Linked DNA regions of Homo sapiens: region 1 is linked to region 2. The links are contacts of gene promoters, found by promoter capture Hi-C in blood cells and fetal thymus (Javierre and others, 2016). All regions are on one chromosome and are shown on one strand. The core of a region is centred on a gene start or on the middle of the fragment in contact, and the rest is flanking DNA. Distances in the headings are between cores, read along the strand shown.

The links. Contacts are between HindIII fragments. The CHiCAGO score rates a contact against its expected background, and 5 or more counts as called.
Region 1: a contact is called between a fragment that was not itself captured here and the fragment with the promoter of ELOVL4 in region 2, in 1 of 17 cell types (fetal thymus). The highest score is 5.4, in fetal thymus.

What each region holds. Positions count from the first base shown.
Region 1 is chr6:80,128,635-80,135,770 of GRCh38, forward strand. BCKDHB (branched chain keto acid dehydrogenase E1 subunit beta) reads left to right here. Exons shown (of 10, transcript NM_183050.4): 3 at 527-595. Among named protein-coding and RNA genes, the nearest start is that of BCKDHB, 26 kb to the left of the region's middle. The HindIII fragment of the contact is 7,198 bases long and covers 1-5,931 here.
Region 2 is chr6:79,941,416-79,949,133 of GRCh38, forward strand. It overlaps ELOVL4 (ELOVL fatty acid elongase 4), which reads right to left and starts at 6,138. Exons shown (of 6, transcript NM_022726.4): 1 at 5,765-6,138. The coding sequence starts at 5,864. LOC124901350 reads right to left here. Exons shown (of 2, transcript XM_047419628.1): 2 at 5,972-6,596. The coding sequence starts at 6,400. The coding sequence ends at 5,972. It overlaps LOC124901351 (a long non-coding RNA gene), which reads left to right and starts at 6,390. Exons shown (of 3, transcript XR_007059656.1): 1 at 6,390-6,512. RefSeq lists a silencer at 6,198-6,247. The HindIII fragment of the contact is 8,446 bases long and covers 3,951-7,718 here.

The DNA of each region.
Region 1 (7,136 bases), core at 1,083-3,582, 180 kb after region 2:
CTGTGTCTCAGGAAAAACCACAGGCCTGGAAGTCTGGAGCATGAGTCATAGTTCTGCCTCTAGCTTTCTGACTTGGCCAGTCAATTTACCACTTCTCTGGTCTCGTTTTCTTCATGGATAAAACAAATGAGATTCTAGATCAGTGGTTCTTTCTCAACTGGGGATGATCTTAGTCTCCACTCCCACAACTCTGTTTACATTTAACAATGTAAGTGAAGACACTTTTTGTTGTCTCAACTGTGTGTGTGTGTGTGTGTGTGTGTGTGTGTGTGTGGTAACTGTCATCCAGTGGGTAGAGACCAGGGTTGCTGCTATGTATCTACAGTGCACAGGACAGACCCTCACAACAAAAGAATCATCTAGTCTAAAATGTCAATAATGTAGAAGTTGAGAAACCTTGATCGAGATCTATGGTCCATTTATCTTTTGTGATTTAAAATGTAAACATTTAAATTACTTATTTCTCATTGTTAGTATTATTTAGAGATTATTAAATAAAATGTATTATTTAAATACTGTTTTTCAGTAATATTTGGTGAAGATGTTGCCTTTGGTGGAGTCTTTAGATGCACTGTTGGCTTGCGAGACAAATATGGTAAGTAAATACCTATATGAATAGTATTCTGATAGAACTTTTACTAAAAGATCTTAAAAATACAAAATATGCCTACTAAATTTTTTGTCATATCCCCATTGTATGGATGAATTCCTTTTCATTTCCAACGCCACCCGCAGAATCCTTTGGCCTATATTTTCTCAAATGTCTTCTAGTATCCCTCTGATCTAGTTCATATTACACATACAGTGTAAATGATTCCAAAATAATTGTCATTAAATGTATATTATTTATTGTGTCATTCTTCTGTCCAAGAACCTTTGGTGTTTTATTGCTAGCTGCCTGAGCCAATTTCAATTCCATTGCCTCCAGTTGGAGATTCTGCCTGTTGGGTCTTTATTAGCAAACTTTATCTTTTCGGGAAGAGAGAGAGAGAGAGAGGGAGAGGGATTTAGTTTTTAAGGAACTGGCTCATGTGAGTTTAGTTTTAAGGAACTGGCTGGCAAGTCCATAGGGCAAACTGGTTGACTTGAAACTCAGGCAGGGTTTCTGTTTTAGCCTTGAGGCTGAATTTCTTTTTGCTCGGGAACCTGCAGTCTTTTCTCTTAAGGCCTTAAATTGATTGTATGAAGCCTACCCACATTATAAAAGGTAATCTGCTTTATTCAAAATCTACTGATTTAAACGCTAATCACATCTAAAAAATACCTTCACAACAACTTCTACACCTGTGTTTGACCAAATATTAATAATTGGGTGCCATAGCCTGGTCAAGTTGACATATAATGAACCATCACATTATCCTTCTTACATGTTTTATCCCAGCTGATGTCTTTAATTGGCATGTGATTGATTTCTGCCCATTGCTTTTATTAATTTCATTTGACTCAGTTAAAATAATCAGAATGCATTTTGGTCCATCTTTGAATTCCCACTCTTCTGACTTGCAGTGTAAGGAATGTGTTTTGACCTCCTATTGTTAGGGATACCTTTGAAATGCTTTTGACATTTTATTTTTTGTCTTAGTCTTACCTGATTTAGAATTCAGCAAAGCAGTTCACGTGAGGGCTGGCAGGAGCTGATATCTCCCTCTCTTCTTTCCTTTGGCATTGCTCTATATTGCTTGTGTATTCATACGGGGCAAGAGGAGTGAGGGTCTTTAAAATTTTTTTTTAAATTGTTGTCTCTTTTTCTGTTCCACTCTTTCTGAGGTTATGTTATACTTAAATCCAAGAACCCATACATGTTCCATCTCACTTATTGGGAACTTCCAGCTTAGTCTTTTCTTTTCCATTTATAGCAGGTTGAGTTTCTGGATCCAGTCCGTCTGCTTTCTCCTACTTCTAATACCTGCTTAGAGCTTGAGGTAGTTGGGCAAAAGATTATTTTTCCTGATCATTTAGACTCCTGCTACAAACTTTTAGATCTTTAATAAACAGTTAAAAATCTTTACACATTTGATTTCAAAAGTAATGCATATACATTGTAGAAAATTTGGAAAATATAGAAAAGCATAAAGAAAATAAAAATTGCTCATGTTTTCAGAGATAACTTGGAGATAACCACTGTACACGTCTTGGTATATATACTTCTAGACTGTATTTGAATATGTTTGTATATATTAACTAATATTTCAAACACAGAATTATACTTCTGTAACTGAGTCTTCTCTGTATCCAGTATAACTATGCTGTGGAGCAGTGTCTAGACCTCACAATTCCATCTTGCCTGACTCAGTGTAGTAGCATGCCATGTGCTTTCTGAATAGCTAATATTTATTCAACTCACTGCGTCAGGTACTGTTCTGAGTGTATTACATGTACTGCTTCATTTATTCCTCCCAAAAAATCTAGGGGTTTGTGTAGGCTGTTGAGTCCTCTGCTGCCTGTCTGCCCAGGTTCTCATCCATAACACTCTGCTTACCCCTTCTGTCTGGGGCATTTTATCGATGCCATCTGCTGCTCATACACTGGTGACTCCTGAATTTCTGTCTCTAGTTCAGACTTCCGTTCTGAGCTTCAGATCTGTGTATTCAGTTTCTACTGCACATCTTCACCTCAGTGTTCCACAGTCACTTCAAACTCAGCATTTCCACACCTAAGGCTGCTACATGCACCCAGCAAATATATGCCTCCTAGTGCATTTCCTATTTTGGTGAATATATCACCATCCATTTAGTTACCTAAGCCAGACACTGGGGAAATTCTAAGTGTCTTCCTTCTTTCTAGTTCCCCACATCCAGTGAAGTTGTATAATTATATCTAATCTGGCCCCTCCTTTCCATTCTTACTGCCCTGATACTTAAGATCTTTCATTTTTCTCTGCCTGCAGAGTTTTATTTCTTTTCTTAGCAGTCACCACTCCTTTAGTCTTACCCTCCCTCCAATCCATTCCCTATCTTGTTGCCAGTGTGATGATTTTAACATGCATATTTCTTAGCAGGACATACAAAATACTTTTTTTTTTTTTTGAGATGGAGTCTCGCTCTATCGCCCAGGCTGGAGTGCAGTGGTGCGATCTTGGCTCACTGCAGCCTCTGCTTCCTGGGTTCAAGTGATTCTCCTGCCTCAGCCTCCTGAGTAGCTGGGACTACAGCCGCATACCACCATGCCCTGCTAATTTTTGTATTTTTAGTAGAGATGGAATTTCACTGTGTTGGTCAGGCTGGTCTCAAACTCCTGACCTTGTGATCCACCTGCCTCGGCCTCCCTAAGTGCTGGGATTACAGGCATGAGCCACTGCGCCTGGCTACCAAAGACTTTGAGAACTACTTAGGTAGCTACCTGACCTCATCTGCTTTTATTTTTATTTTATTTATTTTATCTATTTTTTAGTTTTTACTCTACAGACCTAGGAACTTGAGCTTTTTAAAATTTTTATTAAAACTAATGTTGAGTTACTGGTTGTTTCTCTTAAGCCCCCTGTTGTTTTTTCTTCTCTCTTCCTTTGCACTTGCTATCTGGGTCTCTCTACCCTGTCTGATTACCTGGTAGACTCCTATTTCTTCTTCAGAAGATTCCCCTGTGAAACTCTTCCGGACCCTCCAAGCAGACTCAGGCAGTTCTTTATCACTATTCACGCTGCACCTTTTAAATCTTGAAAGTTGTACTGTAATCCATAACTCCCACCAGAAAGTTGTCAAAGGCAGCAGATCTTTAAGCTGTTCCACAGAATGGATCCCTAGGACCTAATATTGTATCAGGCAGTATTTATGAAGTGCGTGCTGTTGAGTGAATTTACCCTTTGCTCTCACTTAGACAGTGTCCTACTGTCTCAGGAAGGGGATTTCCCTCTCTCACATTAATTATTTAGGTTGGTCTGATTTTATTTTCCTTAAAAAATAGGTTAAAATGGGGAGAAACTAACTCTTAACTTGAAAAAGTCCAGTGCTCTTAGAGGGTACCTGCAAATTTATGTTTCCTGTCATGGCAGGAGGCTGAGCTAACTAATGGCTAAGTAACTCTTTTAGCTTTATTGTCAGCAGCTGCTGTGAATTTTTACAATAGTTTTAGGGCAGTGAAGTTACACTTTATTAATTTCAGGTTGAGGATGTTGATCAAGATGAAAAATTAAATCGCTGATACTTTCTAATGAGAGTAAGTGAGCTTCTGTTTTCAGAAGTGAAGAATAAAGGAAAGGGTGAAGAGAAATATATTAAAATACATTTTTCTTGCATATTTAAAAAGTAACATATACTTAAAAAATTATCTGCCCTTTTGAATATAGGGCAGGAATTTTTAGCTATACAGAAGCATAACTGTCTGCTTAGGATTTTTAAAGGATAATTTGTATTTAAAATAACTAAAAGATTATGTTGATATAGTTCAATATAACAATCAAGTCACACTGCATTAAATGACATAGCAAAGAAAACCCTTGTGCCAGATCAGTTCGCTTTCTGGGGAGTGCTGAATGTTGAGTGGGAAAGGATCAAGTCAGCAGGTGGCAGCCTACCCTTTGAAATGAGAACATCCCTGTTGGCATTGTGCCAGCACTTGAACTGCTGCAAAGCATTTTATATTCCATCAGAAGGCGGAATTTGAAGGATTGTGGGTTACTGACATACGTTGTAAAGCTGAATACTACTTGATATGACAAAGAAGGAATTGCATAATTAGAGGCAATGCTATAAGAAAAGGAAGAGAGGCATAGAGCATTTTGTATTCCAGACGATCCAGATGAGTGTGGATTTAGTACCACTAAACTGCTTCTCTTCCTTGTCCTTTGATAGAACAAAATAGTATGAGTGCTTTGAAAATTAGAAGAAAGAAAATAGTATGTCCTCATCAACATTGCATTCCAAATGGCAGCTTTAACCACTGTACGTAATGAGATGTATTGATTAGGAGCAACAGCTGGACCTCTGGGGAAGCAGGGAGTGGGAGAGGGCAGTTAAAGGTAGTTGATTTGTAGGGTATGTGTGATTTTATGTTGAATGCCACACATGCTTTCTTTCTTTCTTTTTTTTTTAAGACAGAGTCTTGCTCTGTCACCCAGGCTGGAGTGCAGTAATGCGATCACGGCTCACTGTAACCTCTCTCTCCCAGGTTCAAGCAATTCTCCTGCCTCAGCCTCCCAAGTAGCTGGGACTACAGGTGCCCACCACCACACCTGGCTAATTTTTGTATTTTTAGTAGAGACGGGGTTTCATCATGTTGGCTAGGCTGGTCTCGAACTCCTGACCTCAGGTGATCTGCCTCCCTTGGCCTCCCAAAGTGCTGGGATTACAGGCGTGAGCCACTGTGCCTGGTGTCACACATGCTTTCATTCATATAAGTAATGAGACAGATTCCTCATGGCATATAAAAAATCCATTCGTATTGTCATTCTCTGAGAGAGAGAGAAAGAGAAAGAGTGTATGTGTGTGTGTGTGTTATTAAAATAAGATTTTGGTGTGTCAGGTTTAAGGTATGTTTGTAACATTATTCTATACTGATATAACTTGCCTGGTTGTGGTTCTTAGTGTATATTTGGCCCACTTATTGGAGGAAATTTAGGTGAGGAAAGGAATAGCTGAGGACCTCCTGAATTAGTCTACAGGCCTAAACATGTGCCTTTTCATGGGACTTGATGTTTTTCCATTACTGTATCCATTCCTTTACACCACAGGTGTGGCCTGTCATAGCAGCTTGGGAAAACTAATATAACCACTTACTTGTTTTCTTATGTAAACATCACTGAAATTGTATAACCAGATACTTTAATACACTGAAGTCAGGTTGGAAAACTAGGACAGGCATGCGGTGAAGGCAAGTTTTTGTCTATAATATATCAATATTTGGGAGTTGACTTTGGGCCTCAGTATCCTCATCAGTAAATTGAAGGGAAAGGACTAGGTGGTCCTCTGGGATTCTTCCAGAGCATACATTTAGGTAAGCTTTATGGTTTTATTTGTTTTTAAAAAGAGGAACACAGTTTTTTCATGCTTTGATTCCCTTTACATTTAGAGGTTTTTTTGAATATAGTTGTTATAGCATTTTGGAACCATGGGGTACCTTAGGCATTTAATTTAATTTTTTCTTAAGATGTCCCTTTTCCAGCGTTTTGTTTTATTTTATTTATTTATTTATTTATTTATTTGAGTTGGAGTCTCACTCTGTCACCCAGGCTGGAGTGCAGTGGCGAGATCTCAGCTCACTGCAACTTCCATTCCCCAGGTTCAAGTGATTCTTGTGCCTCAGCCTCTGAGTAGCTGGGATAATAGGCATACACCACTATGCCTGGCTGATTTTTGTATTTTTAGTAGAGATGGGGTTTCATCATGTTGGCCAGGCTGGTCTCGACCTCCTGACCTCAAGTGATCCGCCAGCCTTGGCCTCCCAAAGTGCTGGGATTATAGGTGTGAGCCACCACACTTGGCTGCTTTTCCAGCATAAGTTTTAAATTTAGGGGTGTTAGCAAAATCTTTGCTCTCTTATATATTTTTTGTGAATTATGAAATTAATGTCTTTAACAGAGAAAGTGATCTTCCATTATATGTTCTTGTTGCAAAGAACGGGTTATTTGGGTGATACTCATACTCTTGGATTTAGTGTCAGGGTTCCATTGTAGAATGGCAATCTGTGAGATGGGGGTTTGGTTTCTGGGTTGTTGAAACTAATTTTATGGAAGAAAAAAACAGGATAAAATTCAGGAAAATTCCTTAGGGAAATTGAATATGTAGAGGATTTATTTCCCCTATTGAAGTATACATATTTATGACATACAAGCAGATTGAATACCAGATATAGATTGTGAGATGTCTAACAGGAATTTGGAGTGAAAACAGGTATTAATAAGTTGGTGTAAATCTGGTTTCCTAATATATTTATTAAAAATATTTTTAAAGGATTGTTAGTAGCTTTAAATTGCTCTTGATATTACAAAGTTCTTTTGTTTTCCAAAGGTGCACATGTTGGCAGAACTAGATGAACATGTTTAATATGCCTTTTTTTCCCCACAGTGCTTTTTTCACAAACATTAATTTATTTCTAAAAATTATGGTCAAATATATATAACATTTACTGTTTTAACCATTTTTACAGTTCAGTGTTATTAAGTACATTCACGTTGTGGTGCAATTATTACCACCATCCATCAC
Region 2 (7,718 bases), core at 4,888-7,387:
AAGAGAACAATCATATCTGATTTTATATGTCTTGGAATCTTCATTTTTTATCTGTTTTGTGCTTCTAAATGACTTAATGGCCTGATTTACTCATTAAATTTAGTGAACGGCAACTGAATTAATGACCAACTCATAAAAAATATCATTCTTTTAAAGAACTCTCTGGCCGGGCACAGTGGGTCGTGCCTGTAATCCCAGCACTTTGTGGGGCTGAGGTGGGCAGATCACATGACACCAGGAGTTTAAGAGCAGCCAGGGCAACATGGTGAAATCCCCACTCTATGAAAAACAAAAACAAAAACCTTCTGTAATTTAGTGTGGTCTAAAGCCTTATTCATGTTTAGCAACCACAATATATCATGATTCAAAATTATGCTAGATTAAGAGGGTCATCTCCTGATACATATCATATCAACAAATATATGTGATAATCTCTGATGTTGGAGAGAAAGATACAAAGGAGTGAAGTGGTAAATAATAACGAAAGTTTAAACAGTTTGACACTAGGGTCATAGAAGGAATGGCACAGGAAATACGTGAGTAATTACTAAAGACAATGAGCTCCTGTGAGACAACAACTTGCTCCAGGGTACCATAAACAAGAAAGGCTTTGCAAAGGAGGACTATTGTACTGGGTTCTGGTAAAAGGTATCTGGAGAGGTAAACAGGGAAAAGGTGGGTAAAGGCAAGGGGAATGGTGGGATGAGAAACATAAAGGTGGACATGTACACATTTTACTTAAGGGTCAGTGAGTTATCCCAGTTGGCTAGAGCTGCAGGTCTTTGGGCAGGGGAATACTGAAGGATCAAGCGAGAAAGTTAATGTGGACCTTGGCTTTAAAAGGCCATGTGTTTCCTCCCATCTCCTTTCTGAAATCCAAACCCACATGATTTTAAAATATATATTCTAATAGAAAATAAAACAATAGTACCTTCGTTTGTTAACAGGCAAAATGTCCTGATAATGAAGACGAAAAAAACATCTAAAGTGAAAAAAGATAGACTGTTACACTACTCATTTCGGTGTGCTAATATATGCCTAATTCAGAATAATAAGTGGCTTAACAAATGAAAATACTTACGTTAATAATGTTAAAGCATTTACAGGTGACATTATCCACAGGACTTGAGCAAAAAAATAAGAAAACAAATTGAATTTTTAAAGGATGACCAAGTGCTCTGTGGCTCTTAAGTTTACAAAAGTGCCATCTGATATAATTATCTGCATAATTCTTAAAACTTTGTCTTCCTAAGCCAAAGAATCTAAGTTAAAATAGTTAAAACTGTGTCCTGACACCCGTTTTAGAACCTGCATTGTTTACCCTCCTGGAATTCCATCTGCAATAGGATGTTTTACTTTATGCTATCATTGGGGAATGGATAAGAGCATTAGCTATTAAAGTCTAGCAGTCTACCACCAAAAATCAAACTGTGGTGAAGGAAAAGACAATAAAAACCAAACCAAAACAAAAAACCATAAAATGGCATGGACATCCCAGAGGCTTCAAGGAGCTTATGAGTAAAGGATAATTAGGACGTCACTGAAAACAGTGACCAAGGGAGATCCCATGTTAGGAGCTGGTGATGTTTCTTTCTTTCTTTTTTTTTTTTAATTAGCTGCCTACAACTTGGAATCAGAATGTCTTTTCTCAAAGAAACATTCAAAGAAAACTGCATTACCAGGCTTAGCCAAACAAATAAACCTATTTTAGATAATAACATAGATGAAAAACTAAACATTAACTGTGACGAATAATAAAATTAATGTAAGCATACTGTACAATACTTAAAATACATGCTCCTCTGGGACCTAGCAATCCCTAAGACAAACCTGCTTTTACTTCAGCTTATTTGAGCTGAGTTAAACATCCCCTCCCACTAGCCCCCAGCTTCATCAAACCTGGATGACTCACTGGCCTGACCCTTAAGCACCTTCCCAGTTTCCATGGTTTTCAGTCAAGCTGTTCCCCTTGCCTTTGACACCTTTTGCCCTAGTATGCCTCTCCAAATACTCTGACAGTACTCACATCAACTCCTCATTCAAGGGTAGAGGGAAGTAAACTGTGGTGAAACAGCTAAAATATTCTAAAAACAACTGTATATTCCTTTCACTTAGGAGAAGTAGAGATGAGAAGAGCAGGGAAGGACTTTTCTGATCTTCCCTAGGCCCCAGCTAGTCCTGAGTCTGACAGATCACACTGCCTCCAGACCATGATATCAAGGAAAGGGGAATGACAGTGACCCCCTAGACTTTGCAAGATGCATGAGGGCAGTGACCAAGTGTCCTCCTTTCCTTTCCAGAGCCTAGAACTGTGCCTGTACATGGCAAGTAAATACGGAAAGAAATGGTATCATAAGCCTGGCTTCCACATTTCGTCATCCTACAGCTCTCCTCCCTCTTCCTGTACCACTCATCCCTTCTTTCTGACCCCTCCAAAGTTAATTCAAGGACCCAGCAAGTTATGTTCTAACTGCAACTACCAAGTAGACAATTTTTTTCACCAAAATGCAGGGTACTATATCTGCGAAAAGAGGGCCAATGCCAATCATTACCACCCCCAACCAACAGACAGCACCCATACCCTGTGAACAACAGCTATTTAGAAACAAATGGTCAGAAGATACATGGCCTCACAGGAGACACCTGGCTTTACCGTAAGCATCCTACTAACTCTCTAGGGTGTTTATATGCTAAATGTCAGGTATGCAAAAAAGCTATTAAACATTTATTAAAAGCATGAATAAATGAATAATGTAGATAAGTTGGGTATTCATAGATTGGGGAATATTTAGATTCATCAGTTTAAAAAATGTATATACAACTTTTATTAGATGTATACGTTGAGCCTAGGACTCCAATCCTAATAATTTAAATGTACTCATGAAGTGAAAGAATAGAAGAAAAAAACTAACATGATGACATGGAATACCTACTCTAATACTAACAACTAGTATAAAGTCCTACACCAGCCTATACTTTAACATAAACCAACGCTAATTTCCTCGTTCAAAATGTCTACAAATACAGAGAAATAAAAATTATTTTTGTTGTTTTTCTAAAAGTATAGCTCTTTCAAACTTTCAATTCCAATGTACAAAGTGTTAATACTGTAGTAAAAGTAACATTTTTGTTGTTAACATTATTATGGACCATATTTTGTATTTGCTACATATGTGCCTCTGAAAAGCCCAGTTTTCAGACATTGCTTTGGATATGTTTGGATATTTAAAGCACCATTTGATATAATAGCACAAAATGGCATTTAATGAATTAATAAAAGAATGAAAGAAGCATGTAACTACAGCACTAGGAATGAGAGCAGCCAAGGACAAGGAGCCTACCTCATTTCTTGCTCTCCCTCAATAATTTGCATCCTTTCACCACACTCATCACTATTTCTCAAGACCATCTTTCTATCCCGCCCATTTCTGTTTCCCCTTCTTTCCAAACATTTGACTCACCAACTTTTGTTTAACCTCATCTTATAAGCTACTTTTCTATTTTGATATCCCCCACCCAGATTTTCATCAAATTATGCTGAGAGGTGGAATCAGAGCAGAGTGAATGAGTCCAAAAAAAAAAAAAAAAAAAAAAAAGGAACACGAGGGGCATAGAATGAGGGAGAGTAAACGTAAATGGGACACCACAGACTTCAGGTCTATTCGGCCTGGACCTGAAAAATACTCCTCCTCACACAGCAGTACAGCAGAACAGACTATATCCACTAAGCCTCTCTGTTGGTTAAGAAATACCATCTGCCTACATAAGGTAGCTCATTACAGAAAGCAAGGAAGCAGTCTCAGGTTTCGTAAGTGGATAGTCAAAGCATAGGCAAATACCTTCCTTCGGCCTGCTAGTGAGAGGTCACTTGTGTTCTAAGGCTACTCTCACTTCTCAGGCTTGGCCCACAATATTATATTATTTTATATGCCCTTCGAAGCCTAGTAGCAAGCTTTCACATGCGGCAACTGCACAAAATTTCCTGTTTCATTTGTGTGTGTGTGGTTTCTTTTACACAAACATCATCAGGAAGGAATTCACCATCACAGAAAGGTGTATTCTACCTTTGCCCTCAATTTTTCCTTCTGAGACTCAAGAGATGGGAAAGCTCCGGGATAGGATAGGAATGACAGGACCGAGAACTCCTGGGTGTGGCTCTGGCTATATGGAGACTGGAGTATCTCAACAGTGTCTGACTCCTAGGTGTGCGAAGTGCAATTACCTGCTAAAGAACTTGTCTGATGTTCAGCTCTATACAATTGTGTAATGGGAAGCCCTGATGCAACGTTTAAAGAACCGAAATCACAGACGTGAAGGGAAGGGCACATCTTTCCCAGTTTTTGCAGGTACAGTGTAACATCAGTGTAATAGCGCATAGAAACAAAAAAAAAAACTGAAGAAACACTCCATTGAAAACTGCCTTTTAACCATTTTCAGCTGTAATGGCTTATTAAATAGCTTATTTCCCAGTGTCAAAGTTGAGATCTTCTGAAAAAGAACATACTTTTCTAAAGAAGTGAATGCAGTATTAATGCCAAATAATCATTTTGTCTCTCACAAAAATAATTCCAGCATACGTTTTTCCCAAAACATAAGCCCTATGTATCGGACTACATTCATGCTGTAACCACTGTCTAATTTCCTCTAACAACAATGAACACAAAAACTACAGGAGTACATTTTCATTTCGAAGTAGGGAAGGCAGAGTCATAAGATGGAACGTTAATATCCTTCACTGATAGGATGCAGTGTGATACTGCAAAAGGACCAGAAAAATTGACCTCGTAAAATCATTTCTGAAATCCTTTAAACCTTATTTTAGATTTCAAAGACTTTTAAATGCTTTAAAATCAAAAGCAGCGAAGCAAATGAAGAAATAAACAGTACAATGTAAAAATATAATATCACAGTTGGACGCTAGGAAAGCTGCATAAATCAAACAATTGACAGCCCTGCCAAATTAACTGCAACAGCTAAAGAAAAGTTTGCTGATTTAAGAACTGTATATATGTAGGCATCTGGGACAACCTCTAGGTGTTGCTGTAGAGACCCCCTTCCTAAAGACTGATTTCTTCCCCGGTGTTTTGGCCTCCCCCTCCCCCTGACTGCACTGCAGTGCGCAAAGCCATTATAGACAATCACTTCAAACATATTTGCTGTTGAAAATGCCTCGGAAACTAACATTCTTCAAGGTTCAAGGAGCCAAACAATATTATTTTACTTTTCAGTCCGAATTATACTATAGATGAAGGAGCTAGATAGAAGAAAAGATTAGCAGGGTTCTGTCAAAGCGACCAGGAGGCTGAAGAAACCTCCTGTACCTTCAGCTGCCCCTGAAGCCCTCCTTCCTCCCCAGCCCGCTCTCCATACAAAATAGGACTAAATGTTAAAAGGAATCCTGTGCACGGGGAAGAGGGAGGCGAGCTCGGGAGATGTGGGAGCACAGGGTGGGGCGGCTCCTGCGAGGAGCTCCTGGCTGCACAGGCTCCATCTGATATGTCAGCTCCCGCATCCGAGAGCTGATGAGAGATGGAGGGAGCTCAGAAGAAAACCCTGCGAGTGTCGGGGGAGGGGAGGCCTTAACATTCGGATCAGATTAACCAGTGCTCAACCGCAGTGCCCGCGCCGGCCCCTCCGCTGATCCGCAGCATCCGAAAGCCGCAGGGCGCGGGGGCCTGTGGGGCCGGGCCCGGGAGCTGCGAGACCAGGGGCCGGTGACCCCCCGCGGGGGACCGAGCGAGGATGGGGAAGTCAGCGGCTTTACCTGCGATGGACCAGGTCCAGCGGTAGAACTCTACCGTGTCGTTGAGTGCCGTGGACACTACGTTTAGGACACTACCCGGCTCCGAGTCCAGGAGCCCCATCGCGGCGATGAGCGGGCGCTGGCGGCAGGAGAAAGCGGAGACCCAGAGAGAGGGCTGACCCCGGAGGCGGTGGCGGCCGACGGGGCGAGCGGCGGCCGGGAACCCCTCTAACGGCGGCGGCCCGGCTGCGTCTTCTCCTGCTCCTCAAGGCGCCGCGGCGGCGGGGATGCGGCAGAAGGCAGGGCCAAGCGGAAGGCGTCGTCAAGGTTCCCGGGAGAAAGACGAGGAGGTGGAGGAGGCCCAGCCGCCAGCACAGTGCGCTGCACCAGTCTGCAGCCTCGCGCAGCCGCCCCTCCAATCTCCTCAGCCGGCGTCACGTGGCCGCGCGCGGGGGCGGGGGGCCGGCCGCCCCTCCTCCCTCCCTCCCTCCCTAGTATTGGGACTCGCTGGCGTAGGGATGCTGCGCTCAAGGGTGCGACGCCAACTGGGCTCGCGCAGGCGCGCGCCGTCGAGCGGGAGCGGGACACCTGGGCTCCTCCTTGGCCCCTCCCCGCACAAGTCGCCTCATTAGCCTTCCCCGCCCCTGTCCCGGGCATCGGCCCCTGCGGAGGAGTTCACCGCCTCCCCACGGGTGATTTCTTATCCGCCCCGGATACGTCCTGGGAAACAGGACACGGGAAGAATGGGTGTTCTGTGGGCAAAGATGAGGTAGGCGTGGTGCTTTGGTCCTTACCTGACACTCACCTCGATTTCACTTGTGTTCCTGTTTCTTTGACCTCCACCAGCACATGCCTGTCACCATGACAAGAGAAGTGCATGTGTTATGCCTCTGAAGAAGTGAAGGGTATTTGTCTTCCATGCTTCAGCGATGGAGAATAGACTTTGGGGTCGACCCATGAACAAATCAACATATAATTGCATGAATGCTTGCATGTGTTTTGTAGACTCTTTTACTATACATGGAATGAACAAAGCAATATAATTGTGCTAAATTAGGCCATTAGTAGTTCAGAGAAGAGGGAGAACCGAGAGGGGCTTACAGGTGAAGTCCGCTTGAACCTGAAGAAGTTGAGGTGAATCTGAAAAAGATAATCGCTCAAGAGGCAAAGGGCAATTTAGTGTAGAGAGGAAAACAAAGTAATTGTGGCTATTTTGAAAAATTGTTTAGATAAGGTATAGGAGAGCCTACCCTTGAAAAGTAAAAAAAATACAGTACTTGGAATTCATAATTTGATGGTTTCTCACATAAAACAAGATTTTTGAGAATAGTCCTTTCATCTACTTGTTTTTTAAATGTGTCACCTACTTGTTTAACCTTTTCTCCACTTGCTCATTTTGGATGCTACATTTTAAAGACCAGTGAGTCAAGTGTCTTATTGTTCCTGCCCTTTCACACTGTTAATGTGAATACTATCTTTTATCATACTGAAATGATCTATTTCCCAATTGACCTGGTTATATATTGTCTATATTTTATATTGGAAGCATCCTAGATGGTAAGAATTATTTTTGGTTGCTTGATGAGTACCTAACCCAGTGCTATAAACAGTAATTAATAAATATTTATGATGACAAAAATATAACATGTCTTTCAGAGAATAATAAGGATTATTGTGAGTGGCAGGAACTTTATTGCCGAACTAAAGCAAACACAGACTTCTTTAAATGCCCTATTCTTGAAATTAACCAAATAAAATGTTAATTTATTAATTTGTCAAATATATTTGCAAATCTAAAGTTTTCTGGATTGGAATGACAATTTCTCAAGTCTCAATCCTAAATTATGTGTAACAGATTCTAGTAGCTATATAAAAAAAAGAAATCCAGTCAAGTCTCTTCATTTAGGGAGTGGATAAATACCCATTCATTTACAGTGATGATCTAACAAAGTTCGGATTAGTTCGAGCTTCACCT